Linked DNA regions of Homo sapiens: regions 1, 3, 4, 5 and 6 are each linked to region 2. The links are contacts of gene promoters, found by promoter capture Hi-C in blood cells and fetal thymus (Javierre and others, 2016). All regions are on one chromosome and are shown on one strand. The core of a region is centred on a gene start or on the middle of the fragment in contact, and the rest is flanking DNA. Distances in the headings are between cores, read along the strand shown.

The links. Contacts are between HindIII fragments. The CHiCAGO score rates a contact against its expected background, and 5 or more counts as called.
Region 1: a fragment that was not itself captured here is called in contact with the fragment with the promoter of FGFR2 in region 2 in 5 of 17 cell types (endothelial precursors, M1 macrophages, M0 macrophages and 2 more); the score reaches 10.6 in endothelial precursors.
Region 3: a contact is called between a fragment that was not itself captured here and the fragment with the promoter of FGFR2 in region 2, in 1 of 17 cell types (M1 macrophages). The highest score is 6.1, in M1 macrophages.
Region 4: a contact is called between a fragment that was not itself captured here and the fragment with the promoter of FGFR2 in region 2, in 1 of 17 cell types (M0 macrophages). The highest score is 6.1, in M0 macrophages.
Region 5: a contact is called between a fragment that was not itself captured here and the fragment with the promoter of FGFR2 in region 2, in 2 of 17 cell types (M0 macrophages and M1 macrophages). The highest score is 5.6, in M0 macrophages.
Region 6: a contact is called between a fragment that was not itself captured here and the fragment with the promoter of FGFR2 in region 2, in 1 of 17 cell types (M2 macrophages). The highest score is 5.4, in M2 macrophages.

Annotation. Positions count from the first base shown.
Region 1 is chr10:120,959,052-120,962,032 of GRCh38, forward strand. All of the region lies in intron 2 of LOC105378519 (a long non-coding RNA gene), which reads right to left. Among named protein-coding and RNA genes, the nearest start is that of WDR11, 110 kb to the left of the region's middle. The HindIII fragment of the contact is 353 bases long and covers 1,398-1,750 here.
Region 2 is chr10:121,597,158-121,599,916 of GRCh38, forward strand. It overlaps FGFR2 (fibroblast growth factor receptor 2), which reads right to left and starts at 1,287. Exons shown (of 18, transcript NM_000141.5): 1 at 805-1,287. RefSeq lists an enhancer at 1-493. The HindIII fragment of the contact is 3,911 bases long and covers 1-1,729 here.
Region 3 is chr10:120,997,619-121,000,318 of GRCh38, forward strand. It overlaps LOC105378521 (a long non-coding RNA gene), which reads right to left. Exons shown (of 4, transcript XR_001747611.2): 4 at 1,748-1,944. Among named protein-coding and RNA genes, the nearest start is that of WDR11, 150 kb to the left of the region's middle. The HindIII fragment of the contact is 2,243 bases long and covers 146-2,388 here.
Region 4 is chr10:120,926,300-120,929,238 of GRCh38, forward strand. All of the region lies in intron 2 of LOC105378519 (a long non-coding RNA gene), which reads right to left. Among named protein-coding and RNA genes, the nearest start is that of WDR11, 76 kb to the left of the region's middle. The HindIII fragment of the contact is 3,313 bases long and covers 4-2,939 here.
Region 5 is chr10:120,977,081-120,980,065 of GRCh38, forward strand. The region is part of intron 2 of LOC105378519 (a long non-coding RNA gene); the gene reads right to left. Among named protein-coding and RNA genes, the nearest start is that of WDR11, 130 kb to the left of the region's middle. The HindIII fragment of the contact is 9,962 bases long and covers 1-2,985 here.
Region 6 is chr10:121,042,521-121,045,505 of GRCh38, forward strand. The region is part of intron 3 of LOC105378521 (a long non-coding RNA gene); the gene reads right to left. Among named protein-coding and RNA genes, the nearest start is that of LINC01153, 130 kb to the right of the region's middle. The HindIII fragment of the contact is 5,299 bases long and covers 1-2,985 here.

The DNA of each region.
Region 1 (2,981 bases), core at 324-2,823, 640 kb before region 2:
TTGCAAATATATAAATCAATCCCACTCTTCTCAGCTGATATTTTTGTTTTGAAAAATATCGTTGTTTTTCACAAAAATGTATTATTTATATTAACATATAACAGGTTTATTATGTTATTGTAAATAAATTAATATTTTACTTTTTAGACCCTCATCCAATGATCCATCAATTTTTTTTTTTTGAGACAGAGTTTTGCTCTTGTTGCCCAGGCTGGAGTGCATTGGCACCATCTCGGCTCACCGCAACCTCCACCTCCTGGGTTCAAGCAATTCTCCTGCCTCAGCCTCCCAAGTAGCTGGGATTACAGGCACGCACCACCATGCCTGGCTAATTTTGTATTTTTAGTAGACACGGGGTTTCTCCATGTTGGTCAGGCTGGTCTCGAACTCCTGACCTCAGGTGATCCGCCCGCCTCGGCCTCCCAAAGTACTGGGATTACAGGCGTGAGCCACCATGCTCAACCTCAAGTAAATACTTAAAATGTTCATAGTTTTAATTTCTAAATATGGCAAATGGCAATAAACAAAATCCCCATTTTAAAAAAGCTCTTTTGGGTTCTCTGCGATCTTCAGGATTCAAAAGGGGCTCTGAGACCAAATAGTTTTAGAACCACTATTCTAAGCAAAAGAATTTTCATACACATTAGTGTGCAGGTACACATTACTGCGCATGCACACGTATGTACACTTAAAAGTATATTGTGACCAAATATCTTCTCATACCGCTAGACCAAGGAGTAGCAAACTTTTTCTGTAAAGGACCAGAGAGCAAATGTTTCAGGCTTTTTGGGGCTGTCTAGTCTCTGTAGGGACCACTCAGCCCTACTGTAGTATCGACAAATCAGACACAGATGATCGCTAATAAGTGGGTGTGGCCATGTTCCAATAAAATTATTTATGAACACTGAAATTTGAACTTTGTATAACTTTCACTTTGCATAATTTCATAAAATGTTATTCTTCTGCAAATCTTCTTCTTCTTCCACATAAATACATTTATAAATCAGATAACATCCTTGTTTTCTACTTTTTGACATGGGAAATGTGATTATCCATGCCACGTCACTGCTTTTCTCAATGCTATCAATGGCCTTTAGATTAAGTGGGTGGTGAAGGTCAAGGGAGTCATCAGAAGTTTGCTTCTCTGGGAAGGCACATGTGAGCTGGGTGCTTATGCCTCAGAGATGTCTACGAGGAACCCAGCCAAAGGCAGGGCTAATGAAAGAAGAAACCGAGAAATTCATTATGCTGAACTGGGATCCAAAGTGTATAACAACCTCTAACATTTATTTTCCCACTCATTCAACACACACTGTATTTATGCGCTTACTATGTACCAGGCATTAAGAGTTAAAAGATAAAATTTGAATTCTATTTGCCAAAGAGACTTTCTGGAAAGCTTTTGGGAAAGGATGTCCACGAATAGAGGAGGTCTGTAATCCACAGGCAAGACCTCTGCAGTCTGAAAGATTCATACACCTAAGATACATACAGTCATTCTCATCATCTGTGGTGGTTATGTTCAATACAGGCACTCTGAACACCGAATTAGCACGTCCTGACCCACTGCTCCCAGGGGAAATACAAGGTTTGGTCCCTGTGAGCCTCTGATCATACTGTTTTTGTCAACAGATCAATGCATAACCGTGTTTTATGTGTGTTTCTGTTTAAAGACCCCTTATTTAATGTATACTGTTGACTCACTGATATTGAACTCAGTGCCCATGGCACTATCACTTATGCATGAACAAGCTTATCTAACGCATAAACTCTCTCTATAAGGCAGGAAAGACCCTTCTTGCGCTTAGGAACACCAGACGGCACTTCAGCACTGTGCCTAGGGGCCATTTTAAACAGCGAAATCATCAAGAAAAAAGCACAAAAATGAGAAAAATGTTGCACTAAACAGAGCATGAAAGGACATTTGCTCATAGTGTGAGAGCTGAACATGCACATACGTGTTCATCACTCTGCGCTTGTCTGTGAATGACCGTGAACATGCTGCAAGTCTTGATTTGGGGGTTACAAGTTAATTTTATCAAGTAGAAGAATTTGCCAACATGGAATTTATGAACAATGAGGATCAATTATATATATTTTTGGTGTCAGAGAAGAGCTCACGATGGAACCCCGTACACTTGTTTGGGAGGGGAGTTCGGTTGTGTGCACCTAAAATCTTTGATGCTGGGAGTCCAACTTTGGAAACTTATCTGGAGAAAATTATCAGGCAAATGAGTGAATGATTGTGTACAAGGATGTTCATTTATAATTTAATGAAACACTATGCAATCATGAAAATGCATTGATGAATATTTATTAACATGAAAAATTTATGAAATGCAAAATGAAAATACAGTCAAACAATATACACATCATAGGCCCATTTTTGTGATTAATATATTTTATTTACGATGTCTAAAACAGATATATTTAGTTTATAATCCAGATATTTTCAATTTCTGAGTAGAAAAAATTCTGAAATTATATATATTACTAAGGTACCATGTCTGGGAGTTGGGATTATAGAACAATTTAGTTTTGTTCTTTGTACTTTTCCGTGTTTTCTAAATTTGTTTACAGTGAAAGAACTGCTTCTATAATTAGAAATGTATTGTTTCACAATGAAGATTTTTAAGGTTCTTACTCTCTGCCAGGCATAGGGCTAAGTTCCTTAACTCTTGAATTTTTATTAAAATTGTATGAAACAATCATTTATATTTCACTATTTATAATAAAAATAGAAAAAACCTCAAGATTCCCTAGCCTCATTCCTCAGATTTGGAAGGCCCTCGAAGGCCAGCTCCCCCCGACACATCTTGCTGCCATTCTGGGAACCGGAATCAGAGGTGGAGACTCTGGCCCAAGTCCCCACTGCTCAGAAAAGTGCTGAGGTCTGAGTCTTTCCAGCCAGGGCAGAATTCCTGGGGCTTGGCCACAGGGACAGGACTAACAGATTCAGGCAGGAATTTTGTCTGTCTCCT
Region 2 (2,759 bases), core at 37-2,536:
CGGGCCTCCTGCGCCAGGTCCGTGGTCCGCGAGGGTCGGAGCCAGCGCCACGCAGGGCCCTCGGCTTTTTTCCCCAGCGCGGCCCCGTGGCCGAAAAAAATGAGCGCGCAAGTTAGAACTCGCCTGCGCTTTCGACATCTCCCAGCCGCTGCGGCAGAGCAGGCAGGCGAACTAGAAAAAGTCGGTCCAGTTCGCCCCCTAGCCCCAGGCGCACTGCGCTCCCTCCAGCGCCGACGGCGGCTGCGGGCGAGGGGCGCCCAGGCACCGGAGCCGTCGCCTCCCCAGCAGTGCCACCCCTGGCCATCGCCACCCCTACGGGATGTCACCGGCCCCACCCCAGCGGCCCCCTCCCGAAAAAGGGGTCTCCGCAGGGCCTGGATGGTACGGAAGTTCCCAGGACACACGGATGGGGCACCTCGGAGATGACCCCGGGAACCGGCCTGCGGGGCTGTGCCACGGGCAGGCGAACCTTCCGCCCGTCTGCTCTGGGGTCGGAGAAACGCGCCCAGTCAGCGGGAATGCGCCCGCCAGGGTTTGACAGGGAGGGGGGCGTCAACGCCAGAAGCAGATGTCAGCATCTGGATGGGGGTAGCAGAGGCAGAACTTCCAGAACGCCGGCCGTCAGCACGCACCCACCTCCCCCATCACCTATGCAGCCACAGAGGGAGGACACGGAGCGTCCTCCACAATGCTAGTCCTTCCGCGCCCCCCGCCCGGAGGACGGTGCACCCGGCGTCCCGGGCTCCCGTGGCGCCCACGTCCCCGGCTGGCGAAGCTCCCCGAGGCGTCTTGCGCGGCGATTACCTTGAATGGCAACGCTCCTCCGCGACCTGTGTTGTCCCCGCGCCCCGCGTGGGTCGGGATGGAGAAAGCGACGAGCCCGGGGTTGCGGGGAGCAACTCCAAACGCAGAAGAGTGGTCCTTGGGTCTTCGCCGGCGCCAAGCCTCCCGGGCTTCACGCGTACCCCAGGCTGCGGAGGAGCGCGGGCATGACGCCCGCGGGCTGCCCTCGGATTTGGGGAACGAGAGGAAGAAAGGACTCAGGCTTGGCGTTGCCTCCACCAAACTTTGCTCGCGAGTTGCGAAGGCTCAGAGCGCGCAGGCAAGCTGCGGCCTCGGGGCCCCCGGGGCTCGCGGCCGGCCCCCGCCAGCCCGGAGAGCAGTCGCCGCGCCGGGCCAGGTACGCCGCATGCAGCCCCGCGGCGCCCGAGCTTTGTGGCGGCCGCGCGCGCTCCCTCGCCCGCTCCGCACCCGCCGCCCGCCCGCTCGGCTCTCCACCGCGCTCTCCTCCAGCCGCCGCCCGCGCCGCCGCCGCCGCCCCCGCCTCCTCGCGGCGGGTCACGCCCCCACTGAAACCCGAGCCGTTTCCTGGACGGCGGCGCCCTCTCTGCCAATCAGCGCCGCGCGCCCGGGCCGCCCCGAGTCCCGCGCGGCTCCCGACGCCTCCGAGCAGCCGGAGACACCGGCCCGGGAGGCGAGGGCTCGGCCGCGATGCGGCCGTAGGGATGCAGCGACAGCCTCCGAATAAGGCCTGGTCCCGCGCCCCGCGCCACCTCCTCCCTCCTCCCCGGGCGAGCGAGGCTGGCCAACGGCTCGCTGAGCGACTGCGTTACGTTGTTTTATGTCAAGTTAGAAAACAAATGACCGAAGGCTCTAACCCTGCCCTCCCGCTAAAGAGACTTTAAAATGCGCCTGCTTGATACTGCGGGGAGGGTTGCCAGGCAGCTGAAGCTTTTGGAGGAGAGGAAGCCACTTGGAAATGTTCGCAGGACATTGCATGTTTCTGTCCTTCTAAACAATAGAAATGAGAGGAAAAAACTGAATATTAATGGAGGCCCTACTATGGGAGGGTCACACTACATAGGTGATTCTATTTCATCTGCCCAACCACCCTGCAGAGTACTATTCCCAGTTTCTGATAAGGAAACAGGATCAGAGAGGTTAAGTAATTTGCCTAGGACCACACAGCTGGCTACTAGGACAGCCTGACTTTGAATGTGGCTCTCTCAGAAAAAGCCAAAATTGCATCAAAAAAAAAAAGTGTTTAATAATATATGTTTGGATTAATAAAAAGAAATTCAAAGGAGTCTAAAGACAACTCTACCATAAATAGACCTTGAACAAAGTAATTCCTCCCTCTGAATCTTAGATTAAAAATCATAAATGCAAAATCTGATTCTTCAACTGCACACCAAGCTGTAACTGGTTAAAGTTCCTATGTCCATTTACCTTTTCACTAAGCCGTGTCTTCGGAATAATTTATTTTAAATATGCTTTTTCTCCCTCCTTATTCATCCAGCTCCTGAGCAGCCGTGCTTAAGTTCAAGACCATATAGATTAAAACCTTAATTATTTTTCTTTAGAAAAGGTCACTAAACCCAGAAATGCTTTAGAATCCTTTTGAGGCCTGAAGATAGATGAAGCATTGAGAACAAACCTGACTTGGAAAACAGACTTTTCCTGGATTTAGAAACATATTTGCACCTGTGTCACTAACATTGCACCCTTCATAACATTTACAAAAATATTTTTCAAGGTGCTACATGATTAGAAAATCATTTTTATTCACAAATATAGCACAGAAAACGTTTATGCAAGTTATTTAAAAGCCACACAAGTAAGAAATCCATTTAACTGCCTCAGGCAAAAGGCTATAACATTGTATTTTGGAAATTTGATAGCAACAAAATAAAAACTGGTTCTTAAGCAAAATTATCCCTCTATATGCTTGGTGGGAGGGTATGTTTTTGGTCAAGTCC
Region 3 (2,700 bases), core at 17-2,516, 600 kb before region 2:
TAGCAGTGTGTTCATCTGGCTGCTTGGCATGACCAGACTGTGTGTGTGTGTGTGCGTGTGTGTGTGTGTGTTTGTGTGAAGAGAGAGGGAGAGATTTATACTCTCCTTCTACCCTCTGTGCTGTCCCCAGAACACTCTCCATTAAAGCTTGTTGAGCAAATATCAATGACAACATCTCCAGCACAGCCATTGAAGCCTCATGCTTCATCCCAAGCCTGGGGTCCAGCGCAGGCTCTGCCCCTTCCCAGCTGTGCTTCTTCAACCGTGAGATGTAGCTAATCATGGCATCAGCCTCCAGGGTTCTTGTGGTGACTATGTCAAGTGATGCATACGTGCAGAGCATTCAGCAAGTGCCTGGCACACAGAAAGTGTTAAATAAATGGTAGCTATTATTATTCTTGGTGGTATTCTAAAGCTCCCACAGCCACTGTGCCAATGCCCTGGCTGGCATTCTGGAGGCCCCAGGGCACAGTGAATAAAAGCTCCCATTTAAAGGCCAGGTCTTGGGGGTGAGTCCTGCCCTGGCTATGCAACCTCAGGTTGGTGCCTAGGAGGACCCGGGTCTCCTGTGAAGTGGCCGACTAAGGCTCTTGGAACTTTCCCAGAACAACGATCTAACTCCCCACTGCCCTCCTCCCCCAACGACTGACCATAGCTCCCAGATCTCCCATCAGTTCCCTGCTTTGGAGTCGTGGACACTGGCCCAGGGGGACTGGCCTCTGTGCCCCGAGAGCCTCTCTGGCCCCCTCCACACACTGACTCCCAGCTTGGCAGCAGGCAGCTGTAGAATTTACAACTGTCTGTCCAGCCTTGGCCTCTGCCCTTGAAGGTGGGGGATGAGCCTGGCCCTGCTGCTGGCCAGCGCTGCTCCATGGGGAGTTCCTGCTGCCTCCCACTTTGCTGCTGAGCCACTTCCTAAAACCCACAGAGGCTGAGGAGCTGCCAAGTCCTCCAGGAAAGGCTGAGGCAAGTGGTACCTGGGCAGGCAGGGTGGCATGGTGGCTGTACACACGTGCTTTTGGAGTCTTGGATCCAAATTTCAGCATTGCCCTTCCAAGTCCCAGAACCTTGGACAAGTCACTCAGTCACTCAGAGCCGCTGTTTCCCAGCTATAAAAATGGGAAAATACCAGTGCTCTCCCTTTGGGCTGATGATTGTGGAATTACATGATATTTGCCCTCAGCCTAGTGCCTATGTCAAGGAACAATAGATGTCTTCTTAAAAAAGAATGTGCTATTAGCCTAAAGCTGCCAATCAAGTTCCAGAAGCAAACAGTGCACAAAATGGGCATCTCCTGAATCACAAGTGGCCGCCTTTACAGCTTGACTTGGGGACCCAGGAAGGTGAGAGACAGTAAACAGACCGGAGGAGATGCTACCTGGGCCTGCAGGAGGAGCAAGGGGTGCAAATGTAGGGTGCAGGTCCCAAAGGACCCAGGGAGGGGAGGAGGGGAAATACCCACTCCTGGGCGGGCCCTGCAGAGGGAGTCTGTGCACTCAGCACAGAGAAAGGCCCTGGCAGTGGGTTTCCCTTGGGTGGGGGGATCCCTGATGCTCAGCCCTGCAGCGGTGCAGAGCAAAGGGGCGCTGAGGGTGGCCCGATGGCACCTTCTTATCTGAGTGATGTAGCTGGGGGCTCAGCTGGCCTGTGGAGTGCCTAGGAACAACTTGCCAGAAGCCAGATTGGTATTGAGTGCACTGTGGCTGGAGCTGCCATTCGGTTGGACTCCAGGGGGTAAAGGGAGGAAACATGGCTGAAATGGCGGGGGGAACCCAGGGGCTGCCTTGCTGGGCATGAAGTGTTTTCTGGAGCACCGGAGTGATTAGAACTGCTTCCCTCCACAAGGCAACTCCTCTGTTTGGGCTTTCACACCGGGGGAGATGCTCTTTTCCTCTTTCCTGTGATTTTTTGTGGTGAGTAGACACTGGCCTTCTCGACTGGAACCTGAAGGTCAAGAAAGAACGAGGGTAGAAAGGAAGCCTCGGTTCTTAGGGACCACCCAAGGGTCTTAGGATGAAGCCCCTGGGAGGGACCCCCTGCACAACTCCCTCTGGATCCCGTGATCATGGAGCGGGAGAACAGCTGGTGAAGGCTGCAGGGGTTTCACATCCCAGGTCTTGGCCAATTTGCTTCCACCACAGACATGATTCTGAGTGACAGAAAGTGTGCTGCTGGCACAGGAGGCCAACAGGACGTCCGGGAGTTGTGAGGCTCCAAGATTGAGAGGGCTATGGCCTCCTTACTCTTTGAGTCACTACTGAATGCTGCCTCCTTATAGAAGCCTCCCCGCGCCAGGTTTCTCTATGACCTGTGCTCTCTGTTTCTTCCACGGTGCAAATTACCATTTGTAATTACGTATCAATTTGCTCCTTTGTTCTCTAGAATAGAAGCTTCTGGAAGAAAGGGGCCTGGTGTACCTATTCTCTATGGTATACTTGACATGCCACTAGGGGGCAAAGAGGACAAAAGGGCTTCAGAGAAAGGCCTAGACATGCGTTGCTGAAAGCATTTGACATTTGGGCTGAGGTGGTGGGGGAGAAGGCAACAGCAATTTCTAGGCACGGGAAGAGTTATGTCATGCAAAGTGTAACCTGGCACAGAGCAGGGGAGAGACTGGAGACCAGGAGACAAGTTTGGAGGCCACTGCCATGGGTTAGCTGAAACAGGGAGGGGACTTGGAGAGTGGGGCATGGCCCACCA
Region 4 (2,939 bases), core at 410-2,909, 670 kb before region 2:
GAAAGCTTGTTCTGAGCAGAAAGGACTTGATCCGGAGCCAGGTAGATCACCTTCTCTCCTGGAGGCAGCTCTGGAAAAAGGCTCTTAGGCTTCTGGCAGTTCCTCCCCTGAGAATCTCACCCTCTGCAGGTCTCCTCCTGCCTGGGAAACAAAGTCTCTCCAGTCCTTTTGCTGCCTTATGCCCCTGATCCCTGCACCCCCGGACCGGACCCCCAGCCCCATCCCATCCATGGGAACCACCAAGCTCCAAGTACTTATTGAGCCACCACCTTCTTCCAGGGACTCACCACCCCTGTCGGGGGATGCAGGGTTGCAGTGGAGAGCAGCCAGCTGGGGTCATTGGGAATACCAGAGTTGGGGCTTGGATGGAAACTGAGTGGGGAGGGCAGCAGTTCTGGGGAGGTGGGAGGAGATGTAGGTAAGTGAAGGGGGCCAGGGAGCAGCCCTGCAGGTAGGGGGCCGGCCAGAGGCTGGCAGCAGGAGAGGAGACCCCTGCAGGCAGTATGGACAGTGGGGCAGAAGTGAGCAGGCGGGAGGGCACATGCCACTTGAGGGCCCGGTGTGAGCTCAGCGAGGGGATCCAGCCAGGGTCCCTCCTGCAGAGGAACCAGCCTCAGTGTGGTCCGAAGAGCCCCAGGAGCTCAAGAAGGTGGCAAAGCCATGGCAGGCAGAGGGAAACTCAGGGAGGGGAAAGAAAAGATCGGAACTGAGGGGAGTCCTGCAGCAGCTACAGCAGGGAAGTGGTTCTGCAGCACCGTTTCCAGATTGCAGGGCTCGTTTAGAACCGTCTCAGCCTGCTGGGGTGGGAGACTGGAGAGGAGCTGCCCACAGCCTCCAGGGTGTTGTCAGAGCTTGGTGCTTGCCCTGCTCTGTCGGCAATCAGCACGGTTGCTGTGATGACACTGAGCTGCCTTGGAAGGAGATGCACAGGTAATGGGGACCTTTCTCAGGAATGCCATAAACTGTGACATAGGCCTCTCCTCGGGACTTTACAAAGCCTTAGTGAAATTCTGAAATCCACCAAATGCTTAATGTGATTCGGTTTGGGGGAAAAGCCAGAGAGGGGAACTGAATGTTGAATCAAGATTGAAACAGCCTCAGCCCACATGATGATGTGAGCAGCCACACATTTAGGTCCCCAAAAGGGTCACTGATAGGGTCACACTGGTCTGGCCCAGGAAGGGTCTGTCTGCATCTGTGCTGAGAGCTGGGGCCTCTGGAGGGCTCAGCGGAACCAGGTGAGACCAGCCAGCACCAGCCTGAGTCCTCAGCCCCCGGGCACCAGAGGCCTTCCCACCTGACTCTGCCATGACAAGTGCCCTGACTGTCTGCGGTGTTCTAGAAAGGTGACCAACAGGTGTAGGCTAATTACATTTCAAAAAAGTTTTTTTTTTTCCCGGCACATATAACAGGACTAGTCCTCTCCCCTCTTCTCATCAGATTCCATTTCCTTTAGCAAACGCACACGGTGTTCGATTTAAGTGCAATTCTCAGAAAACTTAATAACTGCAGTGTTTAATTAGTCTGACAACATTTATTGAAGCGATGAATACAGAAAAAAGTACTTTCAAGGAAGAAAAATGATGTGTCATTGTTTTGTGTTTTCTTTTCTCAAATCTGTAGGCAGGTATGAAACCGAGCAGCAATCTCTGTCTTGAAAAGCTGGTATTTCTGTTTCTAGAACGTATGTGTGTTTGGGGTGGGGTATAGAATAGAGGGATGAACTGAGTCCTTCACCCACTACCTGGTCTGCTCACTCTGCCCACGCGTGTCCCCTCGGCAGCCCTGTGAGTGCCTGAGCTGTGGCTCCCCAGGCAGTGAAGAGCTAGGCCCTGGAGCCAGACCCCCAGAGGTGATTCCCAGCTCTGCCATTGCCATGCCTCAGTTTCCCCATCTGCAAAATTGGCTTAATGACAGTGCTTCCCTCTTGCAGTCATAAAGCTCTTAGAATACAGCTTGGCAGAAAAATGTTGCCTGTCACTATTTGTGCTGTAAAAGCCCTACCTCTTGGCCGAATGGAGCTCAGTAAACCAATGGGAGAAACAGGTCCCTTCTGAGATCTCCCTAGATCCCTATTCAGCCCCTGGTAGGCTCACAATAAGGGCTCAGTGTTTGTGGGAGTGAGTATCTGTGCAGAAGGAAGATCAGAATCCAGAGGTGACAGTTTAAGGTTAACATATTATTTTCCCAGCATTTCAAAAGAAAATGCCGTGAAACACTAGTCCCACAAGATATTCCTGAGAAAAAACAAATGGGATAGGAACCAAATGAGCTGGGAAAACAGGGCATTCAATGTCTCCCCTCAGAGATTCCCAGTGCACGCTTGCACTTCAAAGGCTCTGAGAAGTCCTACCATAAAGACACCTGCTTAAATGTGTTTCAGCCAATACTAGCTAAACTCATTTGCTGAGGAATTTCCTTCTCCCCTCTTTGCTTTCCCTCCCTCCCTTCCCTTCTCCCTCCCTCTCTCCCTCCCTTCCGTTCATGCTGTGAATGCCCCATGGAATCCATGCTGGATTAGGAGTGGGCACAGTTGCTCGAGAAGCACAGGAACTTGCTGGGTGTGCTACAGAAAGCCTTTGTTTTCTCTCTTTTTTTTTTTTTTTTTTTTTTTTTTTTTTTTTTTTTTTGAGACGGAGTCTCACTCTGTCACCCAGGCTGGAGTGCAGTGGCGCGATCTCCGCTCACTGCAAGCTCCGCCTCCTGGGTTCACTCCATTCTCCTGCCTCAGCCTCCCGAGTAGTTGGGACTACAGGTGCCCGCCACCACACCCAGCTAATTTTTTGTATTTTTAGTAGAGACGGGTTTTCATCGTGTTAACCAGGATGGTCTCGATCTCCTGACTTCGTCATCCGCCCACCTCGGCCTCCCAAAGTGCTGGGATTACAGTCGTGAGCCACCGCACCCGGCCTAGAAAGCCTTTCTAAGCAGGCAACAGA
Region 5 (2,985 bases), core at 95-2,594, 620 kb before region 2:
CCAGGCACAGTGGCTTACGCCTGTAATCCCAGCACTTTGGGAGGCCGAGGTGGGTGGATCACGAGGTCAAGGGATTGAGACCATCCTGGCCAACATGGTGAAACCCTGTCTCTACTAAAAATACAAAAATTAGCTGGGCATGGTGGTGCACCCCTGTAGTCCCAGCTACTCGGGAGGCTGAAGCAGGAGAATTGCTTGAACCAAGGAGGCGGAGGTTGCAGTGAGCCGAGATCGTGCCACTGCACTCCAGCCTGGCAACACAGCAAGACTCCGTCTCAAAAAAAAAAAAAAAAAAAGGCCCAACAGGATTTCATTGTTTACATTGAAATATTAATGGGTTACACATGGTAGATTTGAAGCATTCTGTATGCACTGCGTACTTGTACTAAAATCCTCTGTCCACTCATCTGCTTTCTCATTGGTCTGGGAAAAAGTTAAGGTATGTCACGTTAGTCTATGTGTCCTGGGGCCTTGAGCTACACCTTGTAGATCTGTAGTAAACATTTCCTGACCCCCAACCAAGAGCGAAAATGTCAAAGTCTTTCACATTACCCTTGTTAAGACTAAATTAAGGCTCTTGCAAATATAATCACATCTTTCTCTTTCATACATTTGGTGAGGGAGCACTGGCTTTTATTCTGGGATCATTGCTCTCTGCCATCCTTCCCAATCCATTGCTCTCCATTTGTCCACCCACCGCTAAATCTTCACCTCCTAAACCAGTTCTATTTGGACTGGCCATCAGCCCAATCCATACAACCTTCCTTCCCTTCTCTCCTCTCGCACTTGGGCCTCTCACCTTGGCTTTACTTTGGAGAAAGTTTAAAAGGCCGGTCTCCTCCGTCCCCTTTAATAATATTATGTTATCTTGATCAGCATTTGTATTTCACATTGTAAGATTCTGGCCTGAATTCTGACTTCACTGGGGAAGGGGAGGGAGTTGGAAAGAGGATTGTTGATGACGGCGATATTTTATTACGTGTGATGGTCATGGGTTAGACGTTCAGCTCTTCAAGCTGGAGGCTGAGGGTGGGGAAGGGGAGAGGACACTAAGTATCATGAAGTCACAGTGCAAGATATTTTTCAAGGAGACATCAAAGCCTTTTTCCATGGTGTCTTGCCTTGACCCCATTTCACACTGGCAAAACACAAACTCAAATTAAAGTAAAAATACCAGGACAGCTCCATTTAGCCAGTTGGGCTGCTGGGCTAAGTGACTGACTTTATTAAAATCGCCAAATGCAAACATTCCAAGATTTATTTTCCTTGCTTATAATTTTGCTGCCTTTCCACTGGTGGGCTGTTTATTTCTAATAATTTGGTAGAAAAAAACATTGGCTCATACCAGTGGAGGTCTTATATGCCAAACTGCAAACCAGAGCACATTTTACTGAGGAATAAAACCCCTGGAATACAGGCTCCGGGGGGCCCGCTGACGGCAAATTTACAAGCGTAGTACAATTGACGCCATTATAATTAGTTCCCCCCAAAAGTCTTATTTTTCAGGGCAGAGATCCGACTCTTTCTCTTTACACATGAATATCTCCGGACTAGAGCAAGAACATTACAGAGGGTGAGTCATAGACCGGCTTTGGGCTTTAAAGATTAACGCAGATCCTATAAATCTAACCCACATTCTTTTACTGGGAATGACTGACTTTTATGAAAACCAAGGATTGTAAATCAGAAACCTAAATAGCTTACTTTGCAGCAGATAAACACAGATTTATGTAGTGAGGGAGCCCTAAGTTAACCCTTTCATGGGGCCACGGCGGACCTGAGGGTATGTGTGCGGTGGGGGTGGGTTCCATCAGCACTGATGTTCCTTTCTAAACACTGCACGGTGGAGAGGAGACATGCCACATGTTTATCTCCAGCAGACTGAGGTGGGAGGCAGGAGGAGTGCGTCTTCTTGAGCCAAGTGAGCTTCCTACTGATCCATCTCAGCTGGGTGCACGTTAAGCAGACAAGATTTGGCCCCTGATTATTTCAAAGGACAGTTTCCAACTTGAAGTGACACACACACCAGGGCTAACCTAGAAGGGGCTTCTGCACTCGTGCTCGTATGCGAGCCTATGGTAGCCTGGGCTTCTAATCATCAGCTGTGTAATCTCTGACAAAGCACCAAACCTCTGCGGACCTCAACCTTCTCGTCAGCAACATGCTGCACCTGTCATGTCATAAGGATTAAACAGGACAGTTTTGTAAGGTGCTTAAAACAGTGCTGGACTCACGCTAGGCACTCGATACATATTAGCCAGTATTATTCCTATTGTTACTAGAGCCACTGGTTACATAGACCGGGCTTCTCAAACTACTGCGCACACAAGTCGCCTAGGGACCGAATTAACGTGCAGCCCTGATGCAGCCGCCTGAGACCCGCCTTTGCAGCAGCCTGCCAGGAGGTGCGGATGCTGCCGGCGCCTGGACCGCGCGTTGAGCAGTGCAGGTGAACAGCTCGCCTAACGCACAAGCCACGCCCACACCCTTTCTACACGCTTTCTCGTTCACTTCTCATTGCAACTCCTTCCGCCGCGTGGACAGGTTCAGCACTCTCGGAGTCGATGTCATTATTCGCCATCGACGCGAACCTCGGCAAAGAGACGGGTCTTACCGGTCTCCGAATGTTCTCAGGCCCTAAGCGCGCAGCCCCGCACCCGGGTGCAGCCGGCGCGGTCCCACGTGTCCCTACCGCGAGCCGCTCCCCGCGTCCCTGCTGCCGCCGCGCGCTTAACTCTGCCTGCCCGCCCGCCCCGCCCCGCCCGGCCGTTCCTGCGCAGCCCTGGGTCGGCCTCGCGCTTCTGTGTTTAAACAAGCCTCGCCCTTGTGTTGCCCACTGCAACTTTAAAGGGAAACAGGGCCCGCTGATCCCGGGAGGGAGAGAAGGACATCTATCATTTTTATGTGGCATTTCAAAGGAGGAGGCCTAGGCAGTCCACAGACAAAGGCCCGCTGCGGGGTTAATGGAGAACCCCCATTTAATCA
Region 6 (2,985 bases), core at 271-2,770, 550 kb before region 2:
GTTGCCTCATTTCTTTGTGCCTCAGTTTTTTCATCTATAAGATGGGGATAATGATAATCTTACCTCTCAGAGCTGTTGTGAAGATCGAATATATTCATATTGGGAAGGACTTAGAACAGTGCCTGGCATATATTAATAAATGTGTGGTAATTATTTTTTGCTGACATTAGTTTGAATTGTGTCCCTGTCAATAGATTGGATTTCGTGGGTGGCATCTCAGGTGGATTTGATGGAAAGACAAAGCTGTCTCTCATGGGAGCTGGGCTCCTACTTTCACCCAAAGGCACTGAACTGCATCCCAATTGCCAAATCTACCAACCAAGAAACAATAAACCCAATACCTTCCACGGGAATTACCCTAATCTGTGACTGGCCTGGTGAGTGTGTCATTTATAGAGTCACCATAACCACAGAACGTGGTACATGCCAGCAATCTTCGGGGACCTTAGTGCTCCCCTTCCAGATATAGAGCGAGGTTTGCCTGAGTCCAGGACCTGGCCGAGTGGGCCAGATTGCTGTGTGGGTTTATGGAACAGAGTGTGATGATAATGGGCTTCTAGATTCTTTCGGTGCAGACTCCACCTCCCTGCCTGCAGCCAATACGGAGCCCTGACAGGAAATACAAAGCCGCTGACAGCCCCAGACTTGTCCGCACCACCATCAGGGCTCTGAGCAGCCGAGCTGGAGCCCCCTCTCCCTCCAGGTCGGCCATCCGGCTGGGTCGGCTCAGTCAACAGCAGTTTACAGTTTGGCTGACTACAGCCTGACTCCACAAGGGGAATAAAGCCCAGCATTGTGCTGGGCTTGCAACATCTTTCCCCGTCCAGAGTTCCTGATGTGTTTGTTACACAGGATCTGGTCTGAATGTTTCCTTTGTCGCAGACCTTCACGTGCTGAGGTGGGTCTGCCTTCTCCGCGGCAGTCCTGGGTTAAATAAATACATTAAGGCAACATACACGGCTTGACACTGGAGCCAGCCTCAATAACTCAAATAATTCATGTGGCAAAAGATGGAGCCTCTGTGGTTTTGAATTCATTTAAAGATGGATTTCTTTGTTCACTTCCTTTGCTCGAGGAGAACACAAACTGGGAAGGGGCCGCCATGCTCCAACTCAGCTGGCCATTTTTCTCCAGCAAGTCTGTTTGAGAGTTTCTAAATCCCGTGCAGATGAACACAGAACATGACCTTCAGCCAGTTATAGGATACCATGCTGACATCACCACATAAATATACACTCCCGAGAAAGCTGTGATTAAGCTCCGCGCAGATTTTTATCACTTTTCCAGTGCACCGGCAGGCTGCTTGTTCGCCATGCACCTTTACAAAACTCATAATATTTAGAAATGTGCTGTGTTAGCCCCAGAGGCTTAAATAAACTAAAGCCTGTGAAGGTTTTAATGTAACAAGTTACCTTCACATGTGAAATTACGAGTCTACATGATACTCAATAAGGCCAACATTGTACACACTCTGTTCTTTTGGGATCTTATGTACATTTATCCTGACATATCTGTTTCAGTTTTTTAAGAACGGAAAATATTTCTATTTCAATACCACCATACATGTTCATGACACTAAAGAATGAGTGAGATTGTATATTTAAAGAAATTCAGAGTCTCCGCCGGGTGCTATGGCTCATGCCTATAATCCCAGCACTTTGGGAGGCTGAGGTGGGCGCATCACAAGGTCAGGAGTTCGAGACCAGCCTGGCCAACATGGTGAAACCTCGTCTCTACTAAAAATACCAAAATTAGCTGGGCATGGTGATGGGTGCCTATAATCCCAGCTACTTGGGAGGCTGAGGCAGGAGAATTGCTTGAACTCGGGAGGCCGAGATTGCAGTGAGCCGAGATCGTGCCATGCACTCCAGCCTGAGTGACAGAGCAAGACTACATCTCGGAAAACAAAACAAAACAAAATATTCAGAATCTCTACTCAAGGAGTTTGTGCTTTAAGGCCAACAGAAGGATGGGTGGGAGGGTGCTGTCATTGTAATCTCCTATAAAATCACCAAGTTTTCATTTTCTTTTCTTTTCTTTTTTTTGAGACAGAGTCTCTCTGTCGCCCAGGCTGGAGTGCAGTGGCACAATCTCAGCTCACTGCTCACTGCAACCTCGGCTTCCCGGGTTCAAGCGATTCTCCCACCTCAGCCTCCTGAATAGCTGGGATTATAGGCATGTGCCACCATGCCCCGCTAATTTTTGTACTTTTAGTAGAGACAGGGTTTCACCATGTTGGTCAGGCTGGTCTCAAACTCCTGACCTCTTGATCCACCCGCCTCGGCCTCCCAAAGTGCTGGGATTACAGGTGTGAGCCATCATGCCCGGCCTTCATTTACTTTTAAAAGTGCAGATAAAAGATTTGTTTTATGAGTATAGCAGAGATTCTCAACTGAGACAATTTTGCCCCCCAGGGGACACTTAGCAATGCCTAGAGATATTTTTTGGTTGTTACAACTGGAGAAGCAGGGTACTATTGGCATCTAGAGGGTAGAAATCATGATGCCAATATCTATGTATGTATCCTTCCATACACAGGACAGCCCCCCTCAACAAAGAATTGCTCATTCCAAAATGCCAACAGTACCATGCTTCAGAAACCCTAAGGTACAGTACATTTGGGAGGAGGGGTTGGGACAGCATATGTTCTAACAGGCTGGATGACTGTAAACTTTTTAAGGTGCTATGCAAACACTAACCTTGCCTTCTAGTCAATTTACTGGCTGCTAAACATTGTTTCAAAATTCTGACTCTCCATTTATCCTAAGCACATTGCTATAAAATGCCTTATTGATGAGGCTTGCCTGGCCCAAAATCTAAACAGGGCTGCTCAAGTTTTCTCTTTTTAAAAGAGAAAAATAAAAAACTTTTCTTTTTTACTTTGAAATGATGTTAAACTAAACATGTAGTTTCTAACATAGTAGACAGTACCTTCACCCTGCTTTCCCCCAGTGACAGCATCTTACATAACTATAGTATAATATC